Linked DNA regions of Homo sapiens: all the other regions are linked to region 3. Evidence: promoter capture Hi-C in 16 types of primary human blood cells and fetal thymus (Javierre and others, 2016). All regions are on one chromosome and are shown on one strand. Each heading gives the region's core, a stretch centred on a gene start or on the middle of the fragment in contact. The rest is flanking DNA. Distances are from core to core; before and after follow the strand shown. Region 1 holds the start of LAT2 (linker for activation of T cells family member 2). Region 2 has its middle 15 kb from the start of CLDN4. Region 3 holds the start of ELN (elastin).

Evidence for each region. Contacts are between HindIII fragments. The CHiCAGO score rates a contact against its expected background, and 5 or more counts as called.
Region 1: the fragment with the promoter of LAT2 here is called in contact with the fragment with the promoter of ELN in region 3 in 1 of 17 cell types (erythroblasts); the score reaches 7.7 in erythroblasts.
Region 2: a contact is called between a fragment that was not itself captured here and the fragment with the promoter of ELN in region 3, in 1 of 17 cell types (M0 macrophages). The highest score is 5.2, in M0 macrophages.

What each region holds. Positions count from the first base shown.
Region 1 is chr7:74,207,268-74,211,345 of GRCh38, forward strand. LAT2 (linker for activation of T cells family member 2) reads left to right here and starts at 2,739. Exons shown (of 14, transcript NM_032464.3): 1 at 2,739-2,821. RefSeq lists enhancers at 2,223-2,332, 3,553-3,672 and silencers at 2,613-2,662, 3,773-3,862. The HindIII fragment of the contact is 29,775 bases long and covers 1-4,078 here.
Region 2 is chr7:73,813,921-73,818,115 of GRCh38, forward strand. No RefSeq gene overlaps it. Among named protein-coding and RNA genes, the nearest start is that of CLDN4, 15 kb to the right of the region's middle. The HindIII fragment of the contact is 2,130 bases long and covers 546-2,675 here.
Region 3 is chr7:74,026,750-74,030,701 of GRCh38, forward strand. It overlaps ELN (elastin), which reads left to right and starts at 1,424. Exons shown (of 33, transcript NM_000501.4): 1 at 1,424-1,520. The coding sequence starts at 1,439. RefSeq lists enhancers at 1-807, 1,780-2,751. The HindIII fragment of the contact is 20,716 bases long and covers 1-3,952 here.

The DNA of each region.
Region 1 (4,078 bases), core at 1,489-3,988, 180 kb after region 3:
GCCTGAGTGACCGGGTGAGACCCCATCTCAAAAAAAATTTTAAAAAAGGGGAAAGAACAGCAGGTAACCTCTATCCAGGTGCACAGTCTGGGGCTGAAGGGAAACTGTTGCAGGCTTGTTCCCATTGTGTGAGGAGGAGCCAGTCAGGGGGTCCCAGTGAGGAAGCCAGGCTTTGGGGTCTGGGTTCAAATTCAGCTTCACCTCTGGACCGAGTGAGACCCTGTCTCAAAAAAAAAAAAAAAAAGCAGGCGAGGAATAGAGACAGAGGGTCAGACAGCAAGAGTCCCAGAGGATGAGACAGATGGACACAGAGACAAAGGATGCGGGATGTAGGTGGGCAGGGCAGGGACAGAGAGACCCCTGCAGAGGCCACGAGGGCAGGGCAGATGGAACAAGTGACCAAAGACAGGTGGAGGAGTGGACGGCACGAGTGTCAGAGGCTGCAGACAGCGAGGGCGCTAAAGGGTGGGAGAAGGAAGGAGAGCCCTGCTCCACCCCAGCCTTGGGGGTCTCATCACCCCACTGCACAGATGAGGCTCCTGGCATCGGGGTGCAGAGAACGGCTCATAGCACAGGCAGAGGGACCACAGCCCACTCCTGCCCAGCGGTGCTCCTGTGCCCAGCCCTGGGGTGGACACCGTGGCTGCCATCCACACAGACATGAGGACCGAGTGAGATAGTTCCCTGTGGAGGCCAGGATGCTCTGGCACCTGAGGTCAATAAAGCCACATCCCACAAGTGGGTGGACTGCCTTGTGCTATTGACCATTAAACAGCTGCCCAAGGCCATTGAGCTATTAATTAAATAATAATTATTATTATTTTAAATTTTTTTGTTGTGTTTTTTGGGTTTTTTTGTTTTTGTTTTGTTTTTTTGAGATGGAGTCTCGCTCTGTTGTCCAGGCTGTAGTGCAGTGGCACGATCTTGGCTCACTGCAAACTCCGCCTTCTGGGCTCAAGTGATTCTCCTGCCTCAGCCTCCCAAGTAGCTGGGATTACAGGCACCCACCATCACACCCGGCAAATTTTTGTATTTTTAGTAGAGATGGGGTTTCACCATTTTGGCCAGGCTGGTCTCAAACTCCCGACCTAAATAAGGTGATCCACCTGCCTTGGCCTCCCAAAGTGCTGGGATTACAGATGTGAGCCACCACGCCCGGCCTATTTATTGTTTTTACAGACAGACAGGGTCTTGCTGTCCCCCAGGCTGGAGTGCAGTGGCAGAGTCACGGCTCACTGCAGCCTCCAACTCTTGGGCTCAAGAAATCCTCCCGTTTTGGCCTCCCAAAACACTGGGACTACAGGTGTGTGCCACCACACCCAGCTAATTAAAAAAATTTTTTTAGAGATGGGGTCTCGTTCTGTTGTCCAGGCTGGTCTCAAATTCCTGTTCTCAAGCGATCCTCCTGCCTCAGCCTCCAAAAATGTTAGGATTGCAGGTGCAAGCCACTGCACCTGGCCTCTATCTCCCTGTTTCTTGCTCTCTCCCCATCTGTGTGTGTCTCTGACAGTCTGTGGCTCTCTGTATCTTTCTGTGTGTCTCTCTGTGTGTGTCTTGGTCCATCTCATGCCCAGCTAATTTTTAAATTTTTTGTAGAGATGGGGTTTCACCATGTTGGCCAGGCTGGTCTTGAACTCCAGACCTCAGGTGATTCTCCTGCTTCAGCCTCCCAAAGTGTTGGGATTACAGGCATGAGCCACCGTGCCTGGCCCATGGGTATGAATTTCTGCCTGTGTGTGTCTTCTTCTTTTTTTTTTTTTTTTTGAGATGAAGTCTTGCTCTGTCACCCAGGCTGGAGTGCAGTGGCGCTATCTTGGCTCACTGCAACCTCCACCTCCTGGGTTCAAGCAATTCTCCTGCCTCAGCCTCCCGAGTAGCTGGGATTACAGGCACCCGCCACCACACCCAGATAATTTTTGTATTTTTGGTAGATATGGGGTTTCACCATGTTGGTCAGGCTGGTTTTGAACCCCTGACTTCATGACCTGCCTGCCTTGGCCTCCCAAAGTGCTGGGATTACAGGCATGAGCCACCGCGCCCGGCCCATGGGTGTGAATTTCTGCCTGTGTGTGTCTTTTTAGCGTATGTGTGTCTCCATATCTGCCATCTGCAGGAGCACCTCAGTTTCATTATCTTGCTCCCTGTCTATTGGAGTGTATCTCTCTTCCTCTCTGTGTGACTTTTTGTGTTTATGTGTGTGTTTAGTGTGTGTCCATATTTTCCTGTTCTCTTGTGTCTCTCTGCTGTGTCTCTCTCTTTTTCTTTCTGTTTTTTGAGACGGAGTCTCCCTCTGTCACCCAGGCTGGAGTGCAGTGGTGCGATCTCGGCTCACTGCAACCTCTGCTTCTGAGGTTCAAACGATTCTCCTGCCTCAGCCTCCCGAGTAGCTGGAATTACAGACACATGCCACCATGCCCAGCTAATTTTGTATTTTTAATAGAGACGGGGTTTCACCATGTTGGCCAGGCTGGTCTTAAACTCTTGACCTTACGTGATCCACCCGCCTCGGCCTCCCAAAGTTTTTGGATTACAGGTGTGAGCCACCTCGCCCGGTCCTATCTCTCTTTCTTCTCTTTCTCCCTCTCACTTTGTTTCTCTTCTCTCTCTCTCTCCCGCCTCCTTCCCCCGTCTCCCCTCCCTTCCCCCCACCGCCCTCTTCATAGCTGAGCCTGTCCGGCAGTGCGGCGGATGTACGGATGATTCAGTGGCTGGCAGGAAGCCCGCCCTGCCCGCCCGCCAGTGTCAGTGGTGTTGGCATCAGCTTGGGCAGGTGTGCGGGCTCAGGATGGGGCGGCCGTGGTGAGGAACCCTGGACTCTCAGGTAAGCCTTTCCCAGGGGTGCCTCAGTCCTCAGGCTGTCCCCCATCCCCCAGGAGCTCCTGGCCCCACTGGGTGGGGTGGGAAGAGGCCTGGATGCCTGGCGCCCCCTCCCGCAGCCCCACTCTCACCCTGGCACCAGGCTCTGTGGCACTTCAGGGGTCAGTTTGTTTCTGGGCTTCTGGCCACTCTCTTGCCCTCGCCTTCCCCTGTCCAGCCTGTGTAGCCTTGGGACATCCCAGGGTGGTCCCATCATTGCCAGAGACTGGTGAAGTAAGTGGCCGAGAGCCAAAACAGTGGCTGCCCTGGCCTGGGAGCCTCGGTTTCCTCATCCGTGAAATGGGACTGTAACCCCCTACACAGGTCAGGGGAAAACGGTGGGATTACAGGCCAGGGCCCAGGTCTTGCCCCAGGTCAGGTGAAGAACCCCCACTGCCTCCCTGCCCAGCCCCCTACCTGGCCCTCAACTCTGTCCCTGGGACCAGGGCTGCTCAGGCCCCTCCTGCACCCGCCCGCCTCCCTCTCTCCCTCCCAGCTAGGCTCATTTGAAGCCCAGAGTTATTTGGAAAAAGCAACAGGACCAGCCGGGCACGGTGGCTCAACCTGTAATCCCAGCATTTGGGGAGGCCAAGGCGGGAGGATCATTTGAAGTCAGGAGCTGGAGACCAGCCTGAGCAACATAGTGAGACTCCCATCTCTTTAAAAAATAAAAATAAAAAAATATAATTAAAAACTAAATGAAAAAACCAACAGACCCCAGAGCAGAGTCCAGTGGATAAAGCCATCCAGGGCTTCAAGCCAGGCTGCCCCCTCCCCAACCCCAGTGTCCCCAACCACAGCTCAGCTCGGAGAAGGCTGGGAGAACCGGCAGGGTGGTCTCGAGCGTCCTTCCAGGCGGGATTCAGACACTGTAGCTCCTCCAGCCCAGCCCCGAGAACTTCCCCGAAGCCAGCTCTTGGCAATCGTTGTTCATATGAAAACTGCCCACTTCCCTTTAGTGCTATTTTGGCCTCTGCAGAACCGTGGTCTGTGGCAGCCCCCACTCCCCACCCCGCCCAGCCCTGCCGGCCCCTGGGGGCCTCAGAGGGTCCACCCTCCGCTCCCTCCACCTCAGCCCACCTGCTTTCAGAACCTGGATGGGAGAGTGAAAGTGAGAGCGAGACAGAGACACAAAGGGAGACAGAGACAGAGAGAGAGCACAGAATTTTTTTAAACGGAGTCTCACTCTGTTGTCCAGGCTGGAGTGCAGTGGCGTGATCTC
Region 2 (4,195 bases), core at 361-2,860, 210 kb before region 3:
TTTTGTTAAGAAACAGGGGCTTACTCTGTCACCCAGGCTGGAGTGCAGTGGCCCAGTCATGGCTCACTGCAGCTTCAAGCTTCTGGGCTTGGGCCAGGCACGGTGGCTCATGCCTGTAATCCCAGCACTTTGGGAGGCTGAGGCAGGTGGATCACCTGAGGTCAGGGGTTCGAGACCAGCCTGGCCAACATGGTGAAACCTTGTCTCTACTAAACATACAAAAATTAGCTGGGCTTGGTGGCATGTGCCTGTAATCCCAGCTACTTGGGAGGTTGAGTCTGGAGAATTGCTTGAAACTGGGAGGAGGAGGTTGCAGTGAGCTGAGATCGCACCCCTGTACCCCAGCCTGGGTGACAGAGTGAGACTCCATCTCAAAAACAAAAATAAAAAACCCCAAAAACTTCTGGGCCGGAGTGATCCTCCCTCCTCAGCCTCCAGAATAGCTGAGGCAGCTTTATTGAGCTATAACTGTTTACCAGTGGTTCTGGGTTCAAATTCTAACTCCACTAGCTGTGTGACTCTGGGTGAGTCACTTTAATCCACCAAGCTTCTGTGTCCTGCGGGTTAATAGTGTCTGTGGGGGGCCAGCCTGGCATTGGACAGGCATTCGAGAAGTGCTAATTATTGTTTTTGAAGCAGCTTTATTGACATAGAAGTCACATATCATACAATTCCCCCTTTCAAAATGCACATTTCAATGGCTTTTAGGATACTCACAGAGGTGTGCAACCATCATCACGGTCAATTTTAGAACATTTTCATCACTACAAAGAGAAACTACAAACAAGAGCTGGGTGTAGTGCCTTATGTCTATAATCCCAGCAGTTTGGGAGGCCAAGGTGGAAGGATCACTTGATGCCAGGAGTTCAAGACCAGCCTGGGAAACATAGCAAGACCCTGCCTCTACCAAAAAAAAAAAAAAAAATTTAACTGGGCATGTTGGCATGCACCTGTGGTTCCAGCTACTCAGGAAGCTAAGGCTGGATGGTCACTTGAGCCCCAGGAGATTAGGGCTGCAGTGAACTATGATCGCACCACTGTACTCCAGCCTGGGTGTCAGAGTAAGACCCTGTCTCTAAAAAATAAAAAATAGAAAAGAGCTGGGTGTAGCAGCTTACATCTGTAATCCCAGCACTTTGGGAGGCCGAGGTGGGCGGATCACCTGAGGTCAGGAGTTTGAGACCAGCCTAACCAACACGGAGAAACCCCGTCTCTACTAAAAATACAAAATTGGCTGGGCGTGGTGGTGTGCTCCTGTAGTCCCAGCTACTCGGGAGGCTGAGGAAGGAGAATTGCTTGAACCCGGGTGGCGGAGGTTGCAGTGAGCCGAGATCACGCCATTGCACTCCAGCCCAGGTATCAAGAGCGAAACTCCGTCTCAAAAATAAAAATAAATAAATAAATAAATAATTGTTACTGGCCTTGTCCTCCAAGATAAAAAGGTCTGATCTCTCCCCAGTCCATCCAGAACACAGAGAAGGGAAATAATTGGGAAGGTCATTTTGGACCAGACTCATCCATGGTGATGTTAGATGGGACAGGGAATGCCACATCCCCAAAAGCGGTGAAGCCAGACGTACAGGGTGCTGGGTCAGATGCTGGAGAGAGAGCAGGGAATTGTGGCTTTGGTGGTCACGGAGCTGGGGACATGGGGACAGGGAGAGCCTTGTGTGTGTGTTCGCTGGTATGACCCAGCCCTTGGGTAGCTCTGGGGCCTGGGCAAGGATGGGCTGGATGAGGAAGCCAGGCAAGGAAGCAGGTCCATCCTGCCTTGAGCTGATCGTCTGCTGCCTCTGTCCCCTTGCCGTCCCCGCACTGTCCCTGGGCTGGCACACCTGCACTGAAGCTCTTCTCAGCATCTCACCCTGAAGATTCTGGCTTCTCTGGATGACTTCGACCCTTTTGTGCTGCTATAAAGGAATACTTGAGGCTGGATAAGGTTTTTTTTTTTTTTATACTTTACGTTCTAGGGTACATGTGCACAACCTGCAGCTTTGTTAGATATGTAGACGTGCCATGTTAGAGTGCTGCACCCATTAACTCATCATTTACATCAGGTATTTGTCCCAATGCTATCCCTCCCCCTTCCCCCCAAGGCTGGATAAATTTATAAGGAAAGAGGTGTATTTGGCTCATGGTTCTGCAGGCTGTACAGGACGCATGGTGCCAGCATCTGCTGCTTTTTTTTTTTTTTTTTTTTTTTAGACAGAGTCTCATTCTGTTCCTCCAGAGCTGGAGTGCAGTGGTGCAATCTGGGCTCACTGCAACCTCCACCTCTTGGGTTCAAGCAATTCTCCTGCCTCAGCTTCCTGAGTAGATGGGACTACAGGTGTTCACCACCACGCCCAGCTAATTTTTGTATTTTTAGTAGAGACGGGGTTTCTCTATGTTGGCCAGGCTGGTCTCGAAATCTGCCTCTTTATGAGAGACAAGGTTTCACTCTGCTGCCTGGTGGGAGTGCAGTGGTGAGATCCTAGCTCACTGCTGCCTCCAACTCCTTGGCTCAAGTGATCCTCCCACCTCAGCCTCCCAAGTAACTGGGACTATAGGTGTGCACTGGTACACCTGGCTAATTAAAAAATGTCCTTTTTTTTTGAGATGGAATCTCACTACGTTGCTCCGGCTGGTCTTGAACTTCTGGGCTCAAGTAATCCTCCCCAGCCTTGGCCTCCCAAAGCTTTGGATTCACAGGCGTGAGCCACCTCGCCCAGCCAGCACCCGTTTATGGTGAGAACCTCAGGAAGTTTCCAAAGGTGTTTGCAGATCACATGATGACAGAAGAAGGTAGAGAGAGTTGGTGGGGAGTGGGGCAAGGAGGTGGCAGGCTCTCTTCAACAACCAGTTCTTGCAGGAACTAAGAGTGAGAACTCGCTCCCTTCTGCAAGAATGGTACCAAGCCGTTCATGAGGGATCTGTTCCCAGAACCCAGACACCTCCCACCAGATCCAACTCCAACACTGGGGATCAATTTTCAACACTGGGCTGGGTGAGGTGACTCAAATCTGTAATCCCAGCACTTTGGGAGGCCGAGGTGGGCGGATCACCTGAGGTCAGGAGTTTGAGACCTGCCTGACTAACATGGTGAAACCCTGTGTCTACTAAAAATACAAAAATTAGCTGGGTGTGGTGGCGCATGCCTGTAATCCCAGCTACTCAGGAGGCTGGGGCAGGGGAATCACTTGAACCCGGGAGACGGATGTTGCAGTGAGTCGAGATCACGCCATTGCACTCCAGCCTGGGCAACAAGAGCAAAACTCCATCTCGGGAAAAAAAATTTCAACATGAGATTTCAAGTGGACAAATATGGAAACCATAAACCATAGCACCGGCCCCTCCACCTCCAGTTGCCCTCTCTCACCTTCTTTCAGCCACACCTCCCAGGCCCCAGGTCCTACCCCAGCTCTCCCATGCCTCCGGGCCTTTGCCACATGTTTTTCCACCTAGGAGGTGAGTTCCTCCTACTCACTCACCTGACTCTCCCCTTCTTAATTTTTCTCTCCAGTTTTTATTTTGCAAACTTAAAACCAGGCTGGCTGGGCGCAGTGGCTCACACTTGTAATCCTAGCACATTGGGAGGCCAAGGTGGGTGGATTGCTTGAGCCCAAGAGTTCAAGACCAGCCTGGCCAACATGGCAAAACCCCATCTCTACAAATAATACAGAAATTAGCTGGGTGTGGTGGCATGTGCCTGTAGTCTCAGTTAGGAGGCTGAGGTGGGAGGGCCACCTGAGCCTGGGGAGGTTGAGGTTGCAGTGAGGCAAGATGGCGCCACTGCACTCCAGCCTGGGCAACAGAGTGAGACCCTGTATCAAAAAAAAAAAAAAAAAAAGAGGAAAAAAGAAAAACTTAAAAAGCTACAGAAGCCTGAGTGCGGTGGCTTGAGCCTGTAATCCCAGCACTTTGGGAGGCCGAGGTGGGCGGATCACTTGAGACCAGTTGTTCAAGACCAGCCTGGCCAACATGGTGAAACCCCGTCTCTACTAAAAATACAAAAATTAGCCAGGCGTGGTGGTGGGCGCCTGTAATCCTAGCTACTCGGGAGGCTGAGGCAGGAGAATCACTTGAACCTGGGAGGCAGAGGTTGTAGTGAGCCGAGATCACACCACTGCACTCCAGCCTGGGCAACAGAGCAAGACTCCATCTCAAAAAAAAAAAAAATCTACGGAAAAGTTGCAGGAATAGTCCAGTGAACTTT
Region 3 (3,952 bases), core at 174-2,673:
TGACTGGCTGTGACCTAGGACAAGGAACAAGTTTCCCTCTCCTATTCTCTAGGTCTCACATTTCTTCTCCTCTAGCAGTAGTGGGAAGTGAGGGGTGGGGGACACGACCCTCCCCTGTTCCATCCCACACTCCAACCCCCAAAATCCCCCAGGGTCCCCGTCCAGCTCAGTCCTGGGGGCAGAAATGCAGAGTTCTCCAGGAACGTGGTCCCAGCTGTTTCAGTGCAGGCCGCCCCCTCCTGGCCACCAGCGGAATGTCAGCCTTCCCAGAGGGGCCGGGAGAACAGCAGTCGAGAAGCTCCCAGACTGGTGTGGGCGCTAGCTGTGCTCAGCGTGGGGATGGGAGGTGACCCAGTGATAATGGGAAGCTGGGCTGCCTGTCAGTCTGCGGGGGGCTCCCACCTCCCTGTTCCCCCACAGGGCACCTGGGGATCCAGCCTGATTTTTACCAGACCCTGCGGCCTGCATGGGGCTGGGTATAGGGCTGTGACCTTGACCCATGCAGAATAGAACCCTGTGTGTCGGGATCCTCCATGTGCTCCAGATGCCCCTGGGGACAGCACCAACATGGCCTTAACTCCCAAGCCATTCCCCTGCCTCTAACCCCCTGGCATCTGCAGGCATCCACCCCAGACCCACCCAACACCTCCTCCCCAGCTTCAGGCGCTAGGCAGAGACCTTGGCCCCTGCAGAATGCAGCCCTGTCCAGGGTCCCCTACCTTCCCCCCAGATCCCTCCCAGAGCAATACCAACCCGGGCCTACCTTCCAGGCCATTCAACCTGCAGCCCCCCGGCCTCTGTAGACATCGCACCCCCCAAACCCCCAGACCTGCCCAATGCCTCCCCTCCCCAGCTTTGGGCAGAACCTGTCTCTAGCCAGACCTGGGGGTGTTGGGGAGTCTGGAGGGCCGGGGTGGGGGCTGAGGCGCGGGACAGCTGGCCCGTATCCTCACACTGGGCCCGGGGCCCAGCCGGAGGGGCGGGGGCCTGGCCACTCGGGCCTTGGCTGGGGCTGGGATTTTTGGCCTGGCCGCCAGGCCCTCCCTTCTGCTTCCTCTCCCGAGGGCTGTCCTGGCAGAGGCCCCCCTCGCTCTTTCTGGCGGGAACAGGGCCAGCAGCGAAAGAACAGTCGCAGAGGGAAAGCGGGAAAGAGATGGGGGAAAGTGTGTGTGTGTGAGTGTGTGCTTGTGTGCATGTGTGTGCGTGTGTGTGTCAAGGAAAAAAGCTCGCAGTCCAGCAGCCCGGGCCTGGGAGGCTTGTGAGCCGGGCCTTTCGTAATTGTCCCCTCCCCGCGGCCCCCTCCCCCAGGCCTCCCCCCTCTCCCGCCCTCCCGCCCGCCCTCTCTCCCTCCCTCTTTCCCTCACAGCCGACGAGGCAACAATTAGGCTTTGGGGATAAAACGAGGTGCGGAGAGCGGGCTGGGGCATTTCTCCCCGAGATGGCGGGTCTGACGGCGGCGGCCCCGCGGCCCGGAGTCCTCCTGCTCCTGCTGTCCATCCTCCACCCCTCTCGGCCTGGAGGTAAGGACCCCTCGCCCCTGTCCCCAGCGCTGCCCACAGCTGCGGGCCCTTTGGGCCAGGTGACTAGACGCTCAAGGGGGAGACCTTCGTCCCTGGGAACTGCAAGGGGTCCCAGGTGGGAGCCCCTCAGCCACTGGGTCCTCGGAACTGCCCCTCCCAGGAGCCAGCCCCGTGCCCAGGAGGAACCTGTCAAAGAGACACCCTCGACTCAGAATAGTCCCAGCCCAGCATCCAGGCTTTGCTGCCCTGCGAGGGCTGAGGGGGCCCCTGCTCAGGTGCCCGGGTGCCCGCCCTGTAGGGGGATCAGAGCATCCTGGGGGAGGGCCCAGCGGGAACCCCTGGGTCTGGAGACACCACAGTCTGCACACCTGTGGACACAGCTGGGGTGCACACCAGCCCTGGGGACAGGGAACCTGGGCTTGATACCAGCTCAACCGCAGTGAGCTGTGTGACCTCAGCAGGTTCCTTGACCCCTGGGAAGCCGGGATCCCCCCGTCAGGAAGGTCAGGGCTCCGCTGAGGATGGGTTTGCAGGTTGGGAAGCTGCTGCTGTGTTCTCCCTGCTGAGGCAGGCAGGGACTCCTGGTATGCATTTGTGTGTGTGTGTGTGTGTGCATGCACACAGGAATGAGCGTGCTGTGTGCTCGTGTGTGTATGTGTGCATGCACAGGTGTGCATGTGTTCAGATGCCCGGCTGTGTCACTGAACAGGGAAAGGGATTTCTGGAGGGGTACATATGTCTGCTCACAGGTTCATCCTTAGGCAGGTGTATGCGTATGTTTGGAGGAGGTATATGAAGCTGCTCCTTAGTGTGTGCAAAAGTCTGCCACCTGACAGACATGTAGACATGTACACATGTAGACATGGGCGATCTGGCATCCAGGTGTGACACTGGTGTGGACTGTCACTGTGTGTGTTATGGAGTGTGTACATCTGTGTGTGTGAATGTGTGTGCGATGTGGCACGCAAGCATGGAAAGGCGGGCTGGAGAAGGTGTCTGTCTCCTGGCAGAGGCAGTGTGGCTGAGACAGAGGCTGGAGTGGATCCTGGGGCACTGCTGGGCCATCTGCTATGTGCCCCAACCCAGGCACAGTTGGTTATGGGGTTTGAGGGTGTGCCCTGTGGGGCTGCTATGCCGCGGCCAACGGGGGAGGACAGAAGAGGCTCCCGGGCATGGGAAAAAGGAGGGCATTTGGTAGGGGGGTCTGGGTGGAGTCTGGTTTCCTCGGGAGTCCTCCTTGCCATGAGAACCAAACGCTGAGTGGGGGGCGGGAGGGCCACGGGGTGGAGTCAAGGGCCTGGGCAGGAGCTGCAGCTGTTTCCGTGAGATTGAACAGCTTCCTGTGCAGGGTCCGCTGCTGGACCTGGATGAGGCCAAGGGACATGGGTACCCACAGGCGGGCCCCAGCAGGGGCAACGAGCCAGGGCCTGAAAGCAGCAGCCCCGGGTCCGTCTCAGCCTCCTCCCCAGGTGTAGCCCCCAAACACCCAGCCACCCTTCTTCCCAGATGGGGCCACCACCTATAGGGTGGCAGTTCATCATCAAGGAACCTTGAGAATTAGAAATTATTATCATCACTTGACAAACAAGGAAGCTGAGGCTCCGGCAGGCTAAGGCAGTCCCCGGGGGTTAGTATCAGCCAGCTCTCTGCCCCAGGTCAAGGGGCAAGGGGGTTAGGAGTGAGCTAGCAGGCAACATTTGGGGAGGGGAAGGCTTGGGGCTGAGTCCTTAAAGCAGGCATGCCCTAGGCAGAATCAGCTCTCTCCTTGTGTCCTCAGTGACACCGCTAAACGCCCAGCTGGCCTCACACTTTGCAGAGATCAATCTCAGCTCTGTCCCAGGTGGCTGGACTTGCTAGGTCCAAATAAGGGGTGTGTGAACTGATGAGCTCGTGTGGGGTTTTGCACAGAAGTGCTACTGAAGTCTGCAGAGGTCGGGGAGCCAACACAGGGAGTGGAGCGCTCAGTCACATGCTCACTGCCACTCACCTGGCTGTCCTGGGGGAGCCTGGCTTCTCCCTCAAGGAGGAGGGTGTCACTTATGCAAGTTCAGCGGCTCCAAGGAAGGAACCCTGTTGCGGGGGTGGGGGAGCAGGAGGAGGGGACAAGCCGCACAGCTCCCAGGCTGTTTCAAAAGTGAGCATGAGAAATTAACCCAGGGATAATTCTTCCCCATCCCCCAGAAATAGTATCAGGGATTTTTTTTTTTTTTTTTCCTGATTTCAGAACTGAAGATGGTTTGGAACAGAGGTTTCCTTTTCTTTTATTTTCCTTTTTTATTTTTATTTTTTTACCTTTTTTATTTTTTTTAAATTGAGACAGGGTCTCGCTGTGTTGTCCAGGCTGGTCTGAATTCCTGGGCTCAAGTGATCCTCCCACCTCCGCCTCCCAAAGTGCTTGGATTACAGGCATGAGCCACTGCCTCTTTTTAAAT